Linked DNA regions of Homo sapiens: region 2 is linked to region 1. Evidence: promoter capture Hi-C in 16 types of primary human blood cells and fetal thymus (Javierre and others, 2016). All regions are on one chromosome and are shown on one strand. The core of a region is centred on a gene start or on the middle of the fragment in contact, and the rest is flanking DNA. Distances in the headings are between cores, read along the strand shown.

Region 1 (5,974 bases), core at 434-2,933:
GTGCAGGTTGTAATGAGCCGAGATCGTGCCATTGCACTCCAGCCTGGGTGACAGACACTCCATCTCAAAAAAAAAAAAAAAAAAAAATCCAAAGAAGAATGGTATTTCATGACATGTGAAAGTAATGCAAAATTCAAATTTCAGTATCCATAAAGTTTTGTTGGAACACAGCTATGCCTATTTATATTATTTATGCTGCATGCAAACTACAGAGTTGATTTGTTGCTACAGAGATAGTAAGGCCCACAAAGCCTTCAGTATTTACTGTCTGACTCTTTACAGAGACTGGTCAGGGAGGGCTTCCCTGAGGAGGGGACATTTAAGCTGAGACATGAATAACAAGAAGACTGGAGATAGCGGGCAGAGCTGTCTAGGCAGAGACAATGGAGAGCAAAGGCAGTTTTCTCTCTAATCTTGTAACAGTCTTCTAAAGAGAAGCGTTATTAAAGAAAAAAAGAAAAAAAAATTGAGGGGGCCCTGAGGCTCTGAGGGTGCTGTAGCCTCTCAGGGTCACGGAGACTGTAGGTCCTGAGGAGGGGTTGGGAACCAGCACTGTCTGGCACCAGAATTTGTGGTGCCTTATGCTGCCTCCTTCTCGGCCTGACACAGCATTGGAGCCCAGAAACTGCATGTTGAATGGCTTTATTCACCTTCCTCGGGGAAGGACCAGGGATTTTAGATTCATTCTCAGGAATAGGTGAGAAGAGCCAAAGACTCACCCATGGGCATGAGAGAATGTTCTCTGCAGCCTCATGGTTAGTGGTAGGCCCAGAGGAGGCCAAGGGCAGTAGGCAAGACAACGGATAGAGAAGAGTAGTGAATTCCAGCTATGTGGAGTTTCCAGCTTGGCGAATTCCAGCCATGTGGGGTTTATTGGTGCTGGTAGAAAATGGTAGCCTCAAGCCCTCAGTTGACAAGTGTGGCCAGAGAGAACCCCACTCTCAATCCTTTGTAGACCAGGTCATTCCCGCCAGGCTCTGTGCTAACGGAGGAGAGTAGGTTATTAGTCCCATTTAAGAGCCAGAGAAATTAAGGCAGTGGAGAGTAGCAGGGCTACTGGTTTAAAAACACTGGCTCTGTGCCTGAATCCCAGCCTTGTCATTTGCTAGCTGTGGGACCGCAGGCAAGTGCCTTGATTTCTCTATGTCTGTGGATAATGATGGTATCTACCTCAAAGCTATGTAAAGAATTAAGGAAACAATAGCCCAACACCACACCTGCAGGAAGGAAGCAAGTTTATTATTACTCAATAAACATTGGTGGATCCTGATGACATTCTCTCAGTCAGCTTTAGCAGTCTTAAGAGACTGCAGAGGATGGAGAACCCAAGGTTAGAGCCAGATTTCTTCTCTACCCAGTTCCTCGGGGCCAAAACCCTGACACCATGCTTAACTCCTCTTTTATACGCCATAGTCCGTCAGCAAACCTTGTCTTCAGTATGCGTCCAGGAGTCCAACCATTCCTGCCACCTCCACCGTATTACTTTCATCCAGACTGCCATCAGCTGTCACCTAGATTATTGCAAAAGCCTCCTTGCTGGCTTTGGGGCTTCCATCCTCTCTCTCTCGCCAATCCCCAGTCAACTCCCAACAGGCAGCAAAGCTTAGGTTACTTCTCAGTTCAAAACCCTTCTAGGTGTGCTAGAATTAACTGATTTATTTACTCAATGATTATTTATTATTGAGTGTCTACTATGTGCCAGGTACTGTTGTAGGCATTGCAGATAAAATGGAGAACAAAACAGACAAAAATTTCTGCATTCATGAAGCTTCCGTTCTCATGGAGGGAGATGGTTAACAAACAAGTGTATGAGTAAAACATATGGTAGGTTAGGTGTCATGTGGAAAAATAGTTTAGGGAAGGCGGGGGGCCTTGGATTTTAAGTAGGGTGGTCAAGGAGGTCTAACACACAAGATAAGGGTTAAATAAAAGGCCAAACGTAGGAGAGGTGGGAGCCAAAGAGCTACCCAGAAGAAGAGCATTCTAGATAAAGGCTCAGTAAGTGCAACGGTGGAAGTATTCCTGGTGAGTCTGGGACAATAGTGGAAAGTCAAAGTGTGTGGGAGGGGAGATATAGAGCCCCATGCCCCCCTCCCACACACTTCAGAGGGGAAAAGGGGGCAGGATTGAGTCCTGTACATTCCCCACGTTTTTTTTTTCTCTGGAGATTGGAAGCCATTGGAGGGTCTAAGCAGAGGAGTGATGAGTTAAGCTGCTGTGTGGAAGTCCGTAAGGAACAGGGGTGAGTCAGAGACCCTGAATGGAGCCGTTGCAATTATCCAGATGAGATAGAGTGCCTTGGATCAGGAAGGGAGGTAGCAACAGAAGCGGCCAATAAAGTTCAAAGTCCTCAGCCCCAGTCCTCCCGATGGGGGTCTCACCTACCCCTCTCACCTCACCTTGTTCCTCCCTGCATCCCCACCCCACCGGTCACTGCTAGGCACATAGAAGCATCTACTAAGCATGTGGTGAATCAATGAACCCCTTAATGAATGGTCCACCCCTAGATCATCAGCATCCTTTTTAACGCTAGGCATATAGTCTGAACTCAACACATGTTTACAGATGGAATGCTGCACAGTCCTGCCAAGTCCAGGCGGTTATTCCTCTCCACAGCCGAAGGAAACTAAGGCTCGGGTGGGGAAGTGTCCCCCTGGGGTCTCTCCGCTTAGGCTGCAGGCTGGGCATCCTTTTTCAAACTCTTTTAGCACAGCGAAGTCGAGGGCACTGGGTGGAGGGTGCTTGCTTGCCCTCAGGGTGAGTCACAGTGACCTCAGAGGAGTTTCCCCAAAACGTCCCCGCCCTGTGATGGGGAAAAGCCGGAATCTCTCGGTCCCAGGTGGTCATGTGGCCCAGGCCGGACAAGCGTCCCGAAAGCCCCGGGAGAGACTAAGAAGCAATCCTCCCACGCGCTTTCTCCCACCCTCGGGCCACTGAGACGGAGGGACAGAGGGCCGCCCTCGCGCGGCCGAGGCCCCGCCTCCCGCTCGCCCGCCCGCGCCTCCAGCGGAAGCCGGAAGCAAAAGCGGGTCCTGCTAGCCCCGCGGCTCCGAACTCGGTGGTCCTGGAAGCTCCGCAGGATGGGGGAGAAGATGGCGGAAGAGGAGTGAGTGGGCTTTTTCCCGGGCGGCGGAGGCGGCGGGGCTGGGCCCCGGCGGGTGACAGCGAGCGCCTCAGGCCGCCCTCCGGCCCCGGAAGGCGGAGCTTCTTTTGCTGGTTGGCCAGGACTGACCAAGCCGGTGCCTACGAGGAGGGCGGGATGGGCGGGCCTGGGCCCAGGTGGGCCTTGCTTTCCCCTGGAGATCGGTCCCTCGAGCTGGGAATCTACTGCCCAGCGCAGGCCCGGAGAGCTGTCTTGCGGAAAATACAAACCATATTTACTTTCCCAGTTTTCGGTAATCTCATGGTTACTGAGCCCTCTTCCGCCTCCTCCAGGAAGTCGTCCGGGTTCTCCACACCCACCTCCTACGTAGCCAGTCGCCTCCTGTATAACGATCAGTTTTCATGTCTTTCTCCTTCACTAAGTTTCATTTAGTCATTAACTGTTAGCCATCTACTCAATTCCAGGCCCTGGGCAGGTGGTAGGAAAGGAGGCCGACCAGGAGCCGCTCTCTGGGAGCTTCCATTCTAGTGGGAAAAGAAGACCATAATTAGTCAAGGTGGTTTCAGATCGTGATTAATTAACGTTATTTGTGCCTAGTGTTCCATTATTGGAACGCTAAGCATGTGGGAGTTATTTATATCCTACTGCTCAAGGTCATCGCCAAGGTCTGATTTTTCTCACGTCTGCAGTTCTAAAAATTGCAACCTCTGGCATGAATGGGTTAAGTGTTCTGAAGGAAGCAAAATAGAGTTAAGGTTGGGGAGTCCACTCAGGAAAAAGTGACATTCAGCAGAAACTTGAATGACCAGAATGAGGGATAGGAGAAATAACATCAGGTTCAAAAGGCCTGGCTCAAGAAAGAGTTTAGTGCTTTTGAGTGACAGGCAGCATGGCTGGTGTGTAGAGAGGAAGGGGGTTAGCTGGACAAGGGGAGATGGGGAAGGACGGGCTGTGTCCTCCAGGTACTTTTGGGCAAGTCCAAAAGTCATCTCCATACCTGCAGGGCAGAGTCTGTTGCAGATTGTAGATGCCCTATCACTGTTTGTGGAATGAGTATGTGAAGATGAATAAGGAACCCCTTCATTGATACTGGAGTCCTTCACCTGATAACTTTTCAAATATATTTCTTGGCCATGTGGGGGTCATTTCATGTAATCAGTTATTTATTGAGCAGCTGCTCCATCCCAGACACTAAACAGCCTCAGCAGCACAAAATAAAAGAGGCAATATAGCCCAGCGATTTCAAGTTTGGGTTTTCAGCTTGATTCTGCCACTAACTGAGATGTTGGTGAAGTTTTGCAACCTCCCTGAGCCTTAGTTATGCATGAGTAAAAAACGGAAAGTAATCATACCCAATCAGACATGTTATACCTATTAAATGAGAGGTAGTGTGTTACCTAGTTCCTGGAATAAAGCAGTGCTCAGAAAATAATAACTTTTGTAGTCACAGTAACAGTTATTATAGCAATATTGTACTAGTTCACAATCCCAGCACAGTGTGAAAGAGCTGTGGGAACATACGCAGTGGAGTGGGTAAATTCGGGTGTGGTAAGATGGGGTAATAGGAGGTGACATTTGAGCCGTTTGAAATCTGAGAGGGATTTTGTAAAGTAGGGTAGGGCATGCCCAGATCAACAACTGGGCAAATTGAGGTGGCTTCTTCAACTTGCAGAAATAATGCCAGGAAAATAATGTAAATTGGAGAAACAAAGGTGCTAAGTAAACAGTGTTGGACCTTGGAAAGTGATGAGACTCCAGTTTGCCTCCCTTTAAATCCCCCAGTATTTGCCAAAGAGCAGGCAGCATTTCATTTCTATACTAGCTCTGATTCCCTACCGTTCTTGTCCTCTAAGTGGCTGTATTCAAAAGCACCAGAGGCCACTGGTACCCTTGTGCTGTGCAGGCAGGGATTTTCTTAGTAAGTTTCTCTCGAAGGCCTGCCTGTTAAAGACTTCTGAATCCCATAAAGTTCTTGGACAGCTTCTCTTTCTGGTGTGAGGTGTGTGAATTGATGTTTTGGGACCCTTTTCCATTATCTAATTATGCTTTCTATGTCCTCCAGGAGGTTCCCCAATACAACTCATGAGGGTTTCAATGTCACCCTCCACACCACCCTGGTTGTCACGACGAAACTGGTGCTCCCGACCCCTGGCAAGCCCATCCTCCCCGTGCAGACAGGGGAGCAGGCCCAGCAAGAGGAGCAGTCCAGCGGCATGACCATTTTCTTCAGCCTCCTTGTCCTAGGTGAATATGGACACTGTCATCCCCATCATCTGCCATCCCGTGTCTGTGTGCTCGGTCTGTGTGTTTAACCCTGTCACTCCTCTTGACTGTCAAGTCTTCCTCCCATTTGGTTTTCATATCAAACACTGAGGGAACATGATCAGTTTATAACATCATTAACAGGAAACTCTCTTCTTTATAAAATCATGGTGCTTAGCAAGTTCTGAAGAGCTGTTGATGTAATATCTTGGCCTTTGAAAGAAGGATTAAAAAAATTTTGGCCTAGAAAGAATCTTGAGGCCTGGCGCGGTGGCTCAAGCCTGACATCTCAGCACTTTGGGAGACTTGGGTGGATCACTTGAGGTTAGGAGTTCAAGACCAGCCTGGCCAACATGGTGAAACTCTGTCTTCACTAAAAATACAAAAATTAGCTAGGCGTAGTGGTGTATGCCTGTAATCACAGCTACTCAGGAGGCTGAGGCACGAGAATCACTTGAACCTGAGAGGCAGAGGTTGCAGTGAGCCGAGATCACGCCGCTGCACTCCAGCCTGGATGACAGAGTAAGACTGTCTGGAAAAAAAAAAAAGAATCTTGAACATCTAGTTTAATGGATTTCAAGTTCTACTCAAAGGAGTATGCACCTGTGC
Region 2 (5,950 bases), core at 124-2,623, 620 kb before region 1:
TGCAACACGGAGGCGGGGCAAGGGCTTAAAAGGAAAGTCAGCCAACAGGGAGGGGTGAATATAAGCAAAGCTTCCGTGAAAAAAAACTTATCGAGGTGTAGAGCAAGACAAGACAGACAAATTTTTCCATCTCCGTACACCCCCCTTCAGAGCCCAACACACAGCAAGTGCTCTAGATAGGTTTGCTCAACTCAAGGGAAGCTTCTGCCAGCAACTTTCCCAGAAATGGAATGACAAGAAGAAGCTGGATGATGGCGGGGCGGGGAGAAATGGACAGGTTGCTCATCCTGCGGGAGATGGTGAATATCCTGCAGTTGCCTAAGCGGAGATGGAAAGAAACAGCATCCATCGTTTACAGACTGTCAACTACAGTGTCCCAATTAAGCGTACGCCCCTTTCAGATGTTAACAACTGAAAACAATGCCCTGGCTCTGGACATGGGCACGCGGAACACTGCAGCCTCTAAGAAACCCAAACGGATAGGTAGGTCAACTTCTATCCACTCTGCCCATTAAATTATACCTTCATATCACGCTAATAAATTATGCAGACGGTTTACTGGGACACGCTGTGGGTCTGGCACTCTGATAAGCGCTTTACACGCCCCATTTCACTGAACCTTAAGAGGCAGGGACGGTATTAGCAGCCCCTTTTCCAACCAAGACACAAAGACTTTTTAAGTGTCTTGCCTAACGGGGCAGAGCCGGGTTCGGCACCCGTTTTGGACACCTGGGCCGTGCTCTTAACCACTAAGCTACAGACCTGGGCCGGCGACACTGAGAGGCTCCAGCCCTCGGGGACCTGAAGCAGGGACCCCCCCCCCCCCCCGCCTGCGCCCCAGCCCCGGGAATAACTTCGGCATCCCCGCGCGCGCCATGCGGGACGAGGAAAGGCGGCCGCAGCACCTGTTTGTGGCACCGGTGAGGGCTGGAGGGGATGGGGGCGCCCGGGGCCAGGCCTCAGGGCGCCCCGAGGCGAGGGAACGCAAGAGGACCCGCCTCCTCCGGGAAGGCCCCGCGGGCTAGAGAGAGGCCCGGGAGAAGGCGGAGGGGTGCGCGGGCCCGCCGAGGCCTAGGCCCCACCCGCCGCCCACCTCCCCACCGCGGCGGCGCCCGCGAGGGCCCCACCAGGCCCGGCCCGGCCCGGCCGCCTCACCTGGCTGCTGCTCCGAGCTCGTCCCCCGGCCGGCGGTCCTGGGCGGTGGCGGCGAGGAGGGGAAGGAAGAAGGAAAAAAGGGAGAGGAAGAAGGGACGAAGGGAGGGAAGAGGCGGAGTGGCCGTGGAGGAGGCGGGCGCCGCCGGGCCGGGGGGGGGAGGCGGTCAAAGGAAGCGGGAGCCGAGAGAGACGCGGCAGCCGCCGGCGCAAACGCTGAAGAGCCGCTCAGGCGCCCGCAGCCCGGCAGGAAGTGACGGGGGAGGGGCAGGCGCCCGCCCCCGGCCCCCGCCCGCCTCCAGGCCCGGCCCCGGCCCCACCCCCACCCACGGTCCGAACCACAAGTTCCGGCTGGCACTGCGGCGGAGCCTGCGCTCGCAAGGCACGCCGGGGGCCCAGCGGGAGGAGCGCCCTGTCCCGCCTGGACCGCAGCGGCCCGTCCTGAGTCCCGGGGCCTGCCGGGAGTTGTAGTTCTGGTGGGAGTTTCGCGCTGCCTGCTGGACTCGAAGCGGGTCTGGGAGAACCCAGCCTACCTTCTTTCCTCCTCCACTTCCTTTTTCCTTCCTTGCTGTCGCTTCTTCCTCTTGTCCTGCCTCTGGCCTTCCTTTCTCTCCTTCCTGCAGTTGTTTCTTCCTCCATCTGTAAATGTTCATTAAATGCTTGCCATATGCAAGGCATTGCTCCAAGAGCTAAGAATGTAGTGGTGAACTGACAAAAATCCCTGCCCTCGTGGAGCTTACATTCTTGTGTAAGTAAAATACACAATAAATAAAATTGAAAAATGTGTAGTGAGATAAAAGACAATGGCCCGGGCGCGTTGGCTCAGGCCTCTAATCCCGGCACTTTGGGAGGCCGAGGCGGGCGGATCACTAGGTCAAGAGATCGAGACCATCCTGGCTACCACGGTGAAACCCCCGTCTCTACTGAAAATACAAAAAATTAGCCGGGCGTGGTGGCGGGCGCCTGTAGGTAAACAGCTACTCGGGAGGCTGAGGCAGGAGAATCGCTTGAACCCGGGAGGCGGAGATTGCAGTGAGCTGAGATCGCGCCGCTGCACTCCAGCCTTGGCGACAAAGAGACACTGGTCTCAAAAAAAAAAAAAAAAAAAAAAAAAAAAAAAAAAAAAAAGACGAGAAGTGCCAGATTACTATTTATTTCACCCAGACCTAGATAAACTAAGTGGTTTTTAGCAGCTGTATTGTATGGGAGGTTGGAGAGAGGGTGGCCAGTAAAGAATCTTGGCCAGGCGCAGTGGCTCACGCCTGTAATCCCGGCACTTTGGGAGGCCGAGGTGGGCGGATCACCTGAGGTCAGGAGTTCGAGACCAGCCTGACTAACATGGTGAAACCCCGTCTCTACTAGCCGGATGCAGTGGTGGGCGCCTGTAATCACAGCTACTTGGGAGGCTGAGGCAGGAGAATCTCTTGAACCCGGGAGACGGAGGTTGCAGTGAGCCGAGATCACGCCATTGCACTCCAACCTGGGCAACAGAGTGAGACTCTGTCTCAAAAAAAAAAAAAAAAAAAAAAAGAATCTTGAACTTCTGCACACTCAGCGAAAATTATGCTCGCGTTGTGAGAGGTCCAAGAAACTGAGAATGAATGAAGGAACTGCAGGTGCACAGAGCTTCTCTCTCCCGCTCACTCTGGGACTGCCGCCCCACTATTTAAAAATAATTCTCTCTTTCTTAAATGTCTCTCAATCTAATAATTGCTCAATCTCTCTTGCCAACGGAATATAAATTCAAAATACGAGCTGCTGTGTCTGAAGAGGCCCCTCCAAACAAGGCTTTGGAGCCTTAGCGAAGCCTGGGAGGACACTTGCCTCCTTACATTGCTTCTTGTGAAGTGCAATGACACTGAATTTCAGAACACCAAAAATAGTCAAAGGACTTTCACCGTCCCTTTAGTGCCCATCCAAGACAGTAGTAAGCAACATTCAGATATTGTCCAGCCCTCTGCTAAAAGTGATCTTTTCTTTCTAACTTCCAAGCAGTGTGGATCCCATACCTCCTTGGGTAAAGGAGCAGATGCAGAGAGGTCTCCCTAAACCCAAAGCTGCGCACAATCAGACAATCTCGTCAAAGGTGATTTTGCTATCACCCATAGGGACAAAAGTGGTGGGTCTATGACTTCCAGTCTCAATTTTCTTCCCTCTTTCCTCCTTCCGCATCTTTTTTGTTTTTTTCTTGAGACAGGGTCTCGCTCTGTCACCTAACTAGAGTGCAGTGGCATGAGCACAGCTAACTGCAGCCTCAACCTCCTGAGCTCAAGAAATCCTCCTACCTCAGCCTCCTGAGTAGCTGGGACCACAGGCATGTGCCACCACTCCCAGCTAATTTTTTAATTTTTTATAGAGACAGGGTTTTACTAAGTTGCCCAGGGTCTTACTAAGTTACTAAGTTGACCAGGCTGGTCTCAAATTCTAGGCTCAAGCAATCCTCTTGCCTCAATCTTCCAAAGTACTGGGGGGATTATTCCAGGTGTGGGCCACCATACCTGACCAGGAGTAGGTCACCTAGATTTGTTTTCTTCTGTTTGTACCTAGAAACTATCAGTCAAGTTCTCTTCCAAGGTCCTGAAGACCTCTTGAGTCTTGCTAAGTAATTAAGGAATCATTTTTCTTTACCTTGAGAAAAAGATGGAAGCTGTGTGTTCTTGGTTCACAAGAAACTGTGAGCATTAAGTATGTTACGATAAATTATGTGTGTTCCTTCTCACAAGATAAATTATGTGCATCTGTACTAAGGAATGGGAACATGCAAAACTCATAAAAGCCCTGTGAGATGCTGAATTTTTTTTTTTTTTTTTTGAGACAGAATCTCACTCTGTTGCCCAAGCTGAAGTGCAATGGTGTGATCTCGGCTCTCTGATGCAAAGCTCATAAAAGCCCTGTGAGACATTTATTTTTATTTTTAATTATTTTTTTTTTTTGAGACAGAGTCTCCCTCAGTCACCCAGGCTAAAGTGCAGTGGCGCGATCTCGGCTCACTGCAACCTCCACCTCCCGGGCTCAAGCAATTCTCCTGCCTCAGCCTCCCGAGTAGCTGAGACTACAGGCGCTTGCCACCATGCCCTGTAATTTTTGTGTTTTTAGTACAGACGGGGTTTCGCCATGTTGGCCAGGCTGGTCTCGAACTCCTGGCCTCAGGTGATCCACCCGCCTCGGCCTCCCAAGGTGCTGGGATTACAAGTGTGAATGTTAACCTCTGATGAATTATCTGTTCCACTCTCATAGCCTCTTAGTAGAACTTTGCACCCTTATAATTTTCAATTATCTGTTGAGTATATCTATTAGGCTAGAACTAAGTGATCAACTTCCATGACAGCAGAGACTCAGCCTGTCTTAGTAGTCATGATGGTCCCTGGCCCATAACACAGTGCCAGGGACACAATAGTACATGATAAATTTCCGTAGACTGCTGAAAAATTACAGCCTTGCTTATCTCTGCGCAAGTCCCTAAGAAACAGGGAACACCTGTAGGGTTGATTGGTGTATGTCAGGGTCACCTGTGGTATGTGTAGCACAGGAGAACAAGGTTGAGAACTACTTGCTGGCCTAAATAAGTAATTCCCAAGCTTATTTGAGGTAGCCTGCACTCCTAGGGATATATCAGAATCTAAGAGCAACAATTAGAAGACATAAAAATATAATGGGGCCGGGCGCAGTGGCTTACACCTGTAATCCCAGCACTTTGGGAGGCCAAGGCAGGCGGATCTCTTGAGGTCAGGAGTTCGAGACCAGCCTGGCCAACATGGTGAAACCCCATCGCTACTAAACATACAGAAATTAGCCAGCCGTGGTGGTATGCAACTTTAGTCCCAGGTACTCGGGCATGTGAGGCAGGAGAATCACTTGAACCTGGGAGGCAGAGGTTTCAGTGAGCTGAGATCACGCCACTGTATTCCAGCCTAGGCAAGAGAGCGAGACTCCATCTCAAAAAACAAAATGAGGCTGGGCACGGTGGTTCACGCCTGTAATCCCAGCACTTTGGGAGGCCGAGGAGGGCAGATCATGAGGTCAGGAGATCGAGACCATCCTGGCTAACATGGTGAAACCCCATCTCTACTAAAAATACAAAAAATTAGCTGGGCGTGGTGGCAGGCACCTGTAGTCCCAGCTACTCGGGAGGCTGAGGCAGGAGAATGGCGTGAACCCAGGAGGCAGAGCTTGCAGTGAGCTGAGATCGAGTCACTGCACTGCAGCCTGGGAAACAGAGCGAGACTCCATCTCAAAAAAAAAAAAAAAAGAAAAAACAAGAGAAAAAAGATATAATGGAAGATCCCATTTACAAAGCAGTGGAAAAATAAAAATACCTAGAAATAAACTTTACAAGAAATATGCACAATCTGTGTGAAGAAAAAATGTTTAATTCTGCAAAAGAATACAGAAAAAGACTTGAACAAAGAGAAATACAGGTTATGGTATTGGCTAGGAAGGTTCCATCCAGATCATTAAGATATCAGTTGATCAAGACATTGAAGGACAGCCTGGCCAACGTGGCAAAATCCCAACTCTACAAAAAAAGTACAAAAATAATTAGCCGGGTGTGGTGGCATGTGCCTGTGGCCCCAGCTACTTGGGAGGCTGAAGTGGGAGAATCGCGTGAGCCCAGGAGGTTGAGGCTGCAGTGAGCTGTGATTGCACCACTGCACTCCAGGCTTGGAGTGAGACCCTGACTCAAAAAATACATTAAAATTTAAAAAGACATTGAATGAGATCCCAAGAAAAATAACAAACAGGATTTTGTTTTGGATCTCTATGAGCCATGTCTAAAGTCTTATGGAAAAATTAATAA

Evidence for each region. Contacts are between HindIII fragments. The CHiCAGO score rates a contact against its expected background, and 5 or more counts as called.
Region 2: a contact is called between the fragment with the promoter of STAU1 here and a fragment that was not itself captured in region 1, in 1 of 17 cell types (fetal thymus). The highest score is 6.3, in fetal thymus.

Annotation. Positions count from the first base shown.
Region 1 is chr20:49,809,843-49,815,816 of GRCh38, forward strand. It overlaps SLC9A8 (solute carrier family 9 member A8), which reads left to right and starts at 2,986. Exons shown (of 16, transcript NM_015266.3): 1 at 2,986-3,106; 2 at 5,166-5,347. The coding sequence starts at 3,081. RefSeq lists an enhancer at 2,665-2,804 and a silencer at 2,955-3,234. The HindIII fragment of the contact is 166 bases long and covers 1,601-1,766 here.
Region 2 is chr20:49,186,961-49,192,910 of GRCh38, forward strand. It overlaps STAU1 (staufen double-stranded RNA binding protein 1), which reads right to left and starts at 1,374. Exons shown (of 14, transcript NM_017453.4): 1 at 1,156-1,374. RefSeq lists an enhancer at 118-187 and silencers at 588-747, 978-1,647. The HindIII fragment of the contact is 4,529 bases long and covers 200-4,728 here.